Regions from separate parts of the Homo sapiens genome. Here regions 1 and 2 are each linked to region 3. The links are contacts of gene promoters, found by promoter capture Hi-C in blood cells and fetal thymus (Javierre and others, 2016). All regions are on one chromosome and are shown on one strand. The core of a region is centred on a gene start or on the middle of the fragment in contact, and the rest is flanking DNA. Distances in the headings are between cores, read along the strand shown.

Evidence for each region. Contacts are between HindIII fragments. The CHiCAGO score rates a contact against its expected background, and 5 or more counts as called.
Region 1: a contact is called between a fragment that was not itself captured here and the fragment with the promoter of ABCA9 in region 3, in 1 of 17 cell types (M2 macrophages). The highest score is 5.2, in M2 macrophages.
Region 2: a fragment that was not itself captured here is called in contact with the fragment with the promoter of ABCA9 in region 3 in 1 of 17 cell types (M2 macrophages); the score reaches 5.0 in M2 macrophages.

What each region holds. Positions count from the first base shown.
Region 1 is chr17:69,251,660-69,254,982 of GRCh38, reverse strand. ABCA5 (ATP binding cassette subfamily A member 5) reads left to right here. Exons shown (of 39, transcript NM_172232.4): 32 at 493-668; 33 at 1,114-1,189; 34 at 1,316-1,410; 35 at 3,117-3,236. Among named protein-coding and RNA genes, the nearest start is that of PRO1804, 18 kb to the right of the region's middle. The HindIII fragment of the contact is 567 bases long and covers 1,007-1,573 here.
Region 2 is chr17:69,202,241-69,205,575 of GRCh38, reverse strand. The region is part of intron 9 of ABCA10 (ATP binding cassette subfamily A member 10); the gene reads left to right. Among named protein-coding and RNA genes, the nearest start is that of ABCA10, 25 kb to the left of the region's middle. The HindIII fragment of the contact is 4,673 bases long and covers 1-3,335 here.
Region 3 is chr17:69,059,638-69,063,177 of GRCh38, reverse strand. It overlaps ABCA9 (ATP binding cassette subfamily A member 9), which reads left to right and starts at 2,251. Exons shown (of 39, transcript NM_080283.4): 1 at 2,251-2,312. It overlaps LOC124904051 (a long non-coding RNA gene), which reads right to left. Exons shown (of 2, transcript XR_007065889.1): 2 at 3,086-3,490. The HindIII fragment of the contact is 6,703 bases long and covers 1-3,540 here.

The sequences.
Region 1 (3,323 bases), core at 41-2,540, 190 kb before region 3:
TGGCTCAAATGTCACCTTCCAGTGAAGCTCCCTGATCATTAGAATTACATCTTGCTTTTTCATCCAACTCTGTATTACCCTTTCTGACCAAGTCTCTGAACTCTGACTTAGCTTTATATGTCCTTCCATCATCAAACATCAAAAAGGAGTAAAACATCTGGGCGGGTGCAGTGGCTCATTCCTGTAATCCCAGCACTTTGGGAGGCTGAGGCAGGAGGATCACTTGAGCTCAGGAATTCAAGACTAGCCTGGGCAACGTAGTGAGACATCTTCCCTCCTAAAATTCAAAAAAGAAAAAAGCAATAGCCAGGCATGGTGGCACATGTTTGTAGTCTCAGTTACTTAGTGATAATAATAATAATGACAATAAAGGAGTACAAATCTGACTTGATATTAGTCTGGCTGTAGGAAGGGGTTTTAATTAATGTACTTGCCACTTCCTTCACAGTGTAAATTAAGCAAAATAATAAAAATTGGTTTGTGTTTCTATAGGTATTTTTAGGAGATTATTCTTCAGAGACAAGTGAAGATGATGATTCACTGAAGTGTATGGGTTACTGTCCTCAGATAAACCCTTTGTGGCCAGATACTACATTGCAGGAACATTTTGAAATTTATGGAGCTGTCAAAGGAATGAGTGCAAGTGACATGAAAGAAGTCATAAGTCGGTAAAATAATTGTCTTTAGATTCCTTTTGTTACTTAGAGGAAAGGTTTGCATTTCATATTTTTAAAATTTCATAACAAGCATTTCTGTGGACAATGATTTTTATAGAAAATGTTTATTACTTTTTCATATATTCTTTATGATATATGAAAATATACTGATAGCTGTAAATTATGATAGTTATAAAAAGGTCATTTTTTAATTTCTAGTTACAGGATAAATATACCTATAGATATCATGAAACTTATTTTAATTCAAAGTGAACCATTTTATCAAGATATTAATTTATTTAAAATGATGTAAATTGGAGACTTTTGCCCTTACCTACTTATAATAAGCTTCGACTAAGTAACTATTCTAGAGAAAACAACATCAGGGATCACACCCAGTTGGTATTTGTGTTTATATATATCATGGTATTCTCATTTTGTATTGTTCATTTTGCAGAATAACACATGCACTTGATTTAAAAGAACATCTTCAGAAGACTGTAAAGAAACTACCTGCAGGAATCAAACGAAAGGTACTTTCATTAAACACCAAATAATGCCTGTATTTTTATTGATAGTTTAGTACCTGATATTGTCTTGATAGATTCCTTATAGTGAACCTTTGTTAATTTCCCACCCATCTTTTTCTTTCCATGTAGTTGTGTTTTGCTCTAAGTATGCTAGGGAATCCTCAGATTACTTTGCTAGATGAACCATCTACAGGTATGGATCCCAAAGCCAAACAGCACATGTGGTGAGTATGGTACTTGTGACACAGTACATGATACTTTAGAATAGAACAGTTTCTTTTATTATAATAGTTTAATGTTAGTTATATGTACATCTTGATTTTAAATCCTATTCAAACGATACACTAGTAATTAAAAATTAAATAGATTTAGAGATTTCCTTAAGCTTTTAAAACTTTGCATATTTTTCATGAAGTGTTCATAATATTTTACATATTCCGAAACAGAAATAAGCATGAGTCATTATTAAGATAAAGAGTTCTAGTGTTCTGAATAGTTTTTAAGTTTTTTTCTAGTCATTTAGCATACAAATGATCTTTTCCATAATAATAGTGTCTTAAATTTATGTTGAGACTCTTTCTAGGACAGTCATGCATTGCCTAATGACAGAGATACATTCTGAGAAAGGTGATGTTGTCGTTGTGCAAACATAATAGAGTGTACTTATATAAATCTCTGGGTGGTTATAGCCTACTACACACCTAGACTATATGGTATAGCCTATTACTCCTAGGCTATAAATCTGTAGAGCATGTCACTGCACTGAATACTGTAGGCAGTTGTAACACAATGGTATTTGTGTATCTAGATGTATCTAAACACAGAAAAGATACATTATAAAAGTATTATAATCTTATGGAATCACTGTTGGAAATGTGTTTCATCATTGACTGAAATGTCATTATGCAGTGCCTGTAAAGTACTAATTAGTTGAACAACTCTTTTTTTTTTTTTTTTTTTGAGTCAGAGTCTTGTTCTGTTGACCAAGCTGGAGTGCAGTGGTGCCGTCTTGGCTTACTGCAACCTCTGCTTCCCAGGCTGAAGCGATTCTCCTGCCTCAGCCTTCCAAGTACCTGGGACTACAGGCAAGAGCCACCAAGCCCGGCTAATTTTTTGTATTTTTGGTAGAGACAGGGTTTCACCATGTTGGCCAGGCTGGTCCCGAACTCCAGACCTCAGGTGATCCGCCCCCTTCGGCCTCCCAAACTGCTGGGATTACAGGTGTGAGGCACAGTGCCTGGCCTTGAACAACTCTTTAAGCCTCAACTTCCATGTCTATAAAATGTAAGGTTTGGTTTGGATGCATGTTACGGTTTTCTTATGATTCAAAGCCTGTTTTGGTTATAACATGAAAAGGCATCAATTTTAAAATTTATTTGTTGTCATACTTTTAGCCCATATTAACATTTGAAATCATAGATTTTTTTTTTCCATTTGACAAGCTTTCAAAATGAAGGGAAAATAAATTAGAATATAAAAGTCATGGCCTGGCGCAGTGGCTCACGCCTGTAATCCCAGCACTTTGGGAGGCTGAGGCAGCAGACCACGAGGTCAGGAGATCGAGACCATCCTGGCTAACACGGTGAAACCCCGTCTCTATTAAAAATACAAAAAAAAATTAGCCGGGTGTGGTGGCAGGCACCTGTAGTCCCAGCTACTCAGGAGGCTGAGGTAGGAGAATGGTGTGAACCTGGGAGGTGGAGCTTGCAGTGAGCCGAGATCGGGCCACTTCTCTCCAGCCTGGGGGACAGAGCGAGACTCCGTCTCAAAAAAAAAAAAATCATAGTTGGGCAGGATGTAATAGCCATAGCAATTGATATTTGGTAAGTTTTAATTAACTTAATTAACCAACCGGTTGGATTTTTAAAAACCCATTTTTTTTTAACAAACAGATGTGTTCCTCTCTTTTTGTTTTATTTATGTTTTATAGGCGAGCAATTCGAACTGCATTTAAAAACAGAAAGCGGGCTGCTATTCTGACCACTCACTATATGGAGGAGGCAGAGGCTGTCTGTGATCGAGTAGCTATCATGGTGTCTGGGCAGTTAAGGTTGATGTCTAAATAGCGTGCCATTCAGGGGAAGAGGTTGGGGGTTGGATTTTGAAAGTCATCATTTCAAAAACATGGCAATAGTTA
Region 2 (3,335 bases), core at 536-3,035, 140 kb before region 3:
AGAACTTTGAAACTCTGACCTAATGCTCTTTCTTTTTAAATATTAATAGAATTGAATATTTTATTGTTTATTCTGTTTTGTTTCCCTAGAATGTAGATCCCCACAAGGGAAGAGATATTTGCTTTTTATGACACTGATGCATCACAACAGTGTTTGGCACCTAGTAGATGCTCAATAAATTCCCAGCAAATTAAATAAATGCATATATGTGCCTTTCCATTTGAACTTTATTCAGGATGAACAAAGTGTGTTTTTCCATCTAGAGGCTACGTTGTGTATAGGAGGCTCTCAATAAATATTTGATGAAGTAAGGCAAGAATGAACTCTTTTTCTCTCTCAGCTTCAAATTAAAATTCTTTTTTAAAGTCCTTACATTTGATTAAATTTCACTTACCTTTATTTGGGTATAATACGTATTTTTAAATCTAATTTATTTATTTATTTTTTTGAGACAGGGTCTCACTGTGTCACCCAGGCTGGAGTGCAGTGGTACAATCTCAGCTCACTGCAACCTCTGCCTCCCAGACTCAAGCAATCCTCCCACCTCAGCCTCCCCAGTAGCTGGAACTACCAGCATACACCACCACACCCAGCTAATTTTGGTAATTTTGTAGATACGGGGTTTTGCCATGTTATCCAGGCTGGTCTCAAACTCCTGGCCTCAAGCCATTTAGCTGTCTTGGTCTCCCAAAGTGCTGGGATTTCAGGTGTGAGCCACTGTGCCTGGTCAATCTAAATTTTTATAAGCATCTTTCAAATCTTTATTTTTAGACCAGATTATATGTAAATGTTTTTACACTTATAATTCTTTTACTGAACCAAAACAAGCCAAGAATTGCTAATGGTATCTGTACCAATTAGACATCAGGTTTAATCTACTTATCCATTTAAAATGTAACTGCTTATTGAAGCCTATGATGGGTTAAACAGTCTGAGTCTTCAAGGCTTTTGCAGTTAGCATTGGAAATACTTATGTAAATTGGTAGTTAAATGTAGTGTAAGAAGTATAATAAGAGGATACCACAAGGTTCCATGAGAGGGTAAGTTCTAGGGTTGTCAAATTAGAAAAGGCATGGAGGAAACACCTCAAATTGCATTTAGAGGATAGGTAAGTTTATCTTGTGGAGAAGAGTCTTAAAAACAAATCATCTTAAAGAGTCTTGAAAACACATTTTGTCCACAGCCATATTGTCAACAGCATGTATGCCCAGCAACACATTTTAATTTTCTTCCTTTCTATATCCTTTCCTATTTGACAACAGTTATCCAGCCATATAGTCACCAGCATGTATGCCCAGCAACGTGAAATAGTATATCATAAGGGAAATTAAAAATTGTTTGGCAGAGCTGGTGCATAGTAGGAGTCTGTGATGTAGAAATTATTAACCAGTTTACAATAATTACCGGGAGATTTTTCCAAATGTACATGGCACAGGACAATATAGCATGTAAAGATCCCTGAGATTCTGAGGCTTGTCTCCAATTAAGCCCCTCTATAGGTGCCTGGTGATAATTTTCACTTGATAGGGAATGTACAGAATTTTGGATTGTGTCCTCTTGGGCAACTCAAGTATTGGTGATGATCTGTGACAAAATTTTCACCTTGTCAGATAAGAGAAAGAATGTGAAATTTATTTATATACCTTAATTCTTCAATTTGAAATTGTCTTCTCTATTGTGAGATCATAGCTTTTCTCTATCTGTATTTTGTAGTAAAAATATCATTTTATTTTTGCAGTGATGGTTATAGCATAGCAGATAGGCTTTTAAACTATCCTTAACACAACATATTTGTTTCTTGAACTATCGTTTGTACAAAAAATCCAAAAGCATTAGAACGACTGGTGCAAAAAATGGAGACAGACTGAAGTAGTAGTGTATGTAGGCTCTTTCACTGGTGAGATTTGCCTTTTAGGAAGCTCTCTCTGGCAGCTGCATGAAGAATGGGCTCAAAGCAGGTGGATACTAATCTGTTTGAGAGGATCAAATTAAGATGTCATTGTAATGCAGAGGGGAGAACAGATTCACGAGGTTCTTAGGAAATAGAAATTTGATTTGGTGGTTAATTATGTAGAAGTTGGGGGAAGTGAGAGGGAAAAGAGATGAGGATGGCTCACTGGTTTCCGGCTTTGGCTACTAGGGGTGAGGCACTGACCAGGACAGGCAATAACTACAGTAGTAGCAAAACAAGAATATAAAACATTAGTTTGATTTTTGATATGTTTTTAAAAATACTATAATTTCTATGAATAAAATGAATTCATTTTTGAATTTTAATTTGTTTCCCCTTCTAAAATTTTTTCTTTGTTTTTTCATAGTGTAATTTCTCTTTTTGGCTAGTTCAACTCTAGATCTGTTTACATATTTTCATCTTTGAACATTTCTTCTCTCCCACATAATATCTCTAAAACTGCAATACTATTTACATTTCTCTTGTCAAAGAATTTCTATCTATAACTTTTCCATTCTTTCCCATATATTTTTCTACATGTCATCAACATCTTTTGCTTTCATACATCAAGAAGTTTATATGTTGTGTCTCTTCTTCCTTAGCTCTTCTTTTGCTCAGCTCCATCCCCCTACATTATATTAGCTTTCAGTAACAGCTTGCAGTGAAATATTACATGTGAAAATTCTGTATTGTTTTAATTATCCTACAGTTTCTGAAAAATCTTTTAAATTTCCTCCTCTTACCACCAATAAATTCCTATTTTGTGGATATATCATTAAAACACCATCTCATTTATTTTCTTTCCTTCTTTAGATCTGCACTTGTATTCTCTACTCTAATAGATATGTCCATTTAACTGTCAAGCCATTTTTAATTGATTATACATAGAGCCCCTTCTACCTGAGAATGAAATGAACTATCTCTTGATAAAGATCCCTGTATAATTCCAGATCATAAAACGTTAAAGAATTATCTATGTATTTGGTTGAAAAAAATTTATATAAAATAAAACATGAGAAGACTTGTGGCAGAAACAATTTAATCTGTGCTTATTTAATTTTTCTAATGAATTAAAAAAATTTCCCATGCTTCCTACATCTGATCCTTTAATTTTAATTTTCTTCCTTTCTATGTCCTTTTCCTATTTGACAACAGTTGTCCAGCCTTACGTCTACCTTAACATTCTTAATATGTTCATTTTTGTGCTTTTGTTGTATTCTTAGGACTTGGAAAAAAGTTCTCTTTTATTTTACAGTGAATTATATACTCACTATTTTCAATATTTGTTTTTTTCTATATTATCAAAATAATATATCTTCATATGCTATGGCAGGATCAGCTTACACATCCCTTTTTTTAGCATCCAAATGTCTGGAAATCCAAA
Region 3 (3,540 bases), core at 1,002-3,501:
TATATGCAAATGAGACAGCATAGCATTTGTAATTTGAGCTCATAGACTCTACAGATTGTCTGAGTTTTAACTCAGTTTCCGCTACTCACCATCTGTGTGAATTTGGGCAAGTTATGTAACTCCCTGGGCCTCACCTTTCTGGTCCGTAAAATGGGTTGATTAGAATAATGCCTACCTCATGGGATTATTCTGTGGATTAAATGTTTTAATATTTAAGTATGTCTTAGACACAATAAATGCTATATGTAGTTGCCAAAAAAAGTGTACATTATGGTATAAAATCAGTGTCATTTCATTTTTGAACTCCCATGGGATTGTTTTTGAATTGGTAAACTGATTCAAAAACTTCTTTATAAGAGTAAATACGTCGGGCGCAGTGGCTTCTGCCTGTAATCCCAGCACTTTGTGGGGCCAAGGTGGGTGCATCATTTGAGGTCAGGAGTTCCAGACCAGCTTGACCAAAATGGTGAAACCCCTTCTCTACTAAAAACACACAAAAATTAGCTGGCCGTGGTGGCAGGTGCCTGTAGTCCCAGCTACTGTGGAGGCTGAGGCAGGAGAATCGCTTGAACCTGGGAGGCAGAGGTTCCATTGAGCCGAGATTGTGCCACTGCACTCCAGCCTGGGTGACAGAGGGAAACTCCGTCTCAAAATAAATAAATAAATAAATAAATATTAAATATTGTTTAATCTAGAAAATATTAAAAAGAAGATCAATGAGAGGGAGCTTGCTCTGTTATAGTGCCACAGAGATTACAGTGTGGTACACTGAAGGAAACATTGAAAACAGAATTTAGAACCGAAAGTCAAAATCAACTAGGTCCAGAACTCATAAGCTCTAACCTAGGTACAAAGTTCTTCTAGGAAACAAGTTACTGAAAAAAAATTTCCTAAATTATATTCTCTGTGCACAAAATGTTGGCGATGTTATTAAATGTATTGAATGTGATAATTTTGTATTTTCTGCAGAAAATCAACCAACCTATAACCTTTTCTGTAGACATATGGAAACAATCAGAAGTCTTTTTTTTTTTTTTTAAGTTTGACAGTCTCATGGATTCAGGAGTTCAGCCTACTTCCACAGACTGCTTGCTGAGCAACTTCTGGATCGCATATAATTAGAAAAAGGATAAATATAATTGAATCAATATTGAGAGAATGGGAAATGGGTAAGGAAGATTTCATTTGGTTATCATGGTCCATGAGACACAGATAAGAGGCTGATTTAAGAATTGCATGCATTTATTGTTTCCCTTTCAGCTGTATGTTCAGGAAGAAATTACAGTACTGAAGAATTTAACAGACTTACTGGCTGTAAGCAGAATGATAGTGGTCCTTTCCCCCCTCTTCTTCAGCCAAAGATGAACTCCATGAATTATAAGAATTTTGGAACAGTCTTTTCTTCTACTTACATAAGATGCTCAAAAATAGACAGAATGGCATCTATTACCAGTTAAAAATGTTTCTCTAACAATACTGGAAAGCAGGACATACTAAAATTCAGTAGTTACTGGTGGAGAAAGTAGTTTGTTTCATGGGAACCGTTGCAGAGATGACAAGCCTGGAGGCTTTGAGAGCACAGGTAATTGTTATGTGAGATTTCTCTAAAGATTCTGCTCGCTTCAGTACCATGAAAGATGAAAGATGCTACAATTAGTATGCACACAATGAAACTGAGATGCAGATGGAAACTCAGAGTTTCTTTTGTTACCCTGAAGAAAATTACATTGCTTTATTGCCGTATTTCTGGATTCAAGTTTTAAGAATCTGTTGAAGGTTTTAAATAGTTTCTAACCCAATTTGTATGTATTTACTTGTCACTTAAAATATATATATATATAACATATATATTTATGTATTTTTCACTTTGTTCTGCTCTACTCTTCTCTGGATTGGCTTCTTACTTATCTTTGTTTAAATCATTGTGTTGGGGTCAACTCTCCCATTAGGGCCTTGTATGAAAAGACCGATTGAGAAAGGCTAGATTCTCCTTGGTTTGATAGTTCCTAATGTTTTGATATGTCCAGCCAACCATCTGCAACTACAAACTCCCTGCTGAGTAACTAGCAGGAAACAAAGAAATGGAAAACAGCAAAGAAATCACCACGTGAGCAGAAGATATTTTGGCAGGCTAGCTGAACTGAGACCAGATTCTCCTGGGAAATTTGTATAAAACAGAACTATTCACAATGAATGTGAAATTAAAAGCATGATGTAGTAGTGACCCAAAAGGAATGTGAATTCTCCTCCAGAACATGCAGAGACCCATGGATGAACTGTGTTTCTAGATTTTTCCTCCAGCTTTCCTGAGAGTAAGTTAACCTCTAAAATTGTGGTTATTTTGCATATAGAAATATAACATAAGACTATAAATAGGCATGCCAGACGTTTAGGTAGAAACCATTAAAAGCAGTAAGTTATTAACGAGTCATTTTGACTTTTTAAATCATCTATTTTATTTTGTATGTCTAAATAACCAAATGAAGAACTAAGAATTTAAATTTTTACCCCGTAACTAAAACATTTTTGGACAAATAGCATACATTATCTAATAGGCTATTGAATAAATCAAAAGAAATGTCACGTTATGTTGCTTCTTTACAAGTATGAACTATTTCCAAATTTATTTGAATTACTTACTCTTCTTTGTTTGTTTTTAATTTTACTGCCAGAGGAATTGTAAGCATTGCAGGATGCATAATTTTCTGAGTTTTGAATTGTTTTTAAATGGCTTGAGAATATTTTCATCAAGAAAACTTAAGGAAAGATTTTTATTGATCTTGTTTATTATAGTAACTATTTTAAAATTTTGATCTAATTTGTTGCCCAGTGCAACAAATTAGAAAAATTTGTTCTGTGAATAACAGGAATTTTATCTGACTGGGAAATGATTGGCTTTTTATAACCAATTTATTATTTCTAAATTATACAATTTCCTATTCAGAACAATTTAAGCTAATTAGATGTTTTATATTATTACGGTGGGTAGTATATTTTTTCTCTGATATTTACACTAAGATGTTCAGTGGGGGGAAAAATCAGTCTTAACGCTCAGAGATAAATAACCACATTCATGACAATGAGATTATGTAATTGTTTTTTATTCACAAATATTTTCTGGCACACACATTAATTCACAGAAAGAAAGAACAGTAGTCACGTGGGCACAATATTTAACCCTTTCAGATACTGAGGTTTATCACCGCTTGATTTCTTAGTTGGAAATGTTGCAGTTTGGTTTCAGGCAGGATTTCCAGGCTATCACAGCCTGCTCCGATGGCATGATTATTAGGAGCTCATCTGCATCACTGGTGAATTTCTTTGGTCACTTCTGGACAGTTTTTAAACATAAGTCCATGCCCTTCTTTGTTCTGCTGATGAGGCACGTCATAAAATAAATGTCCAGCAATGTCTTCCTGTCTTGTTCTCAGGCCTCAGGCTCTCGGACTCCTTCCCCCAACCCTGCCCCCATGTTAACTTTCTATTGCTGCTGTAAAAAAAAAAAAAATGACCACAAACTTAATGGTTTAGAACAAAACA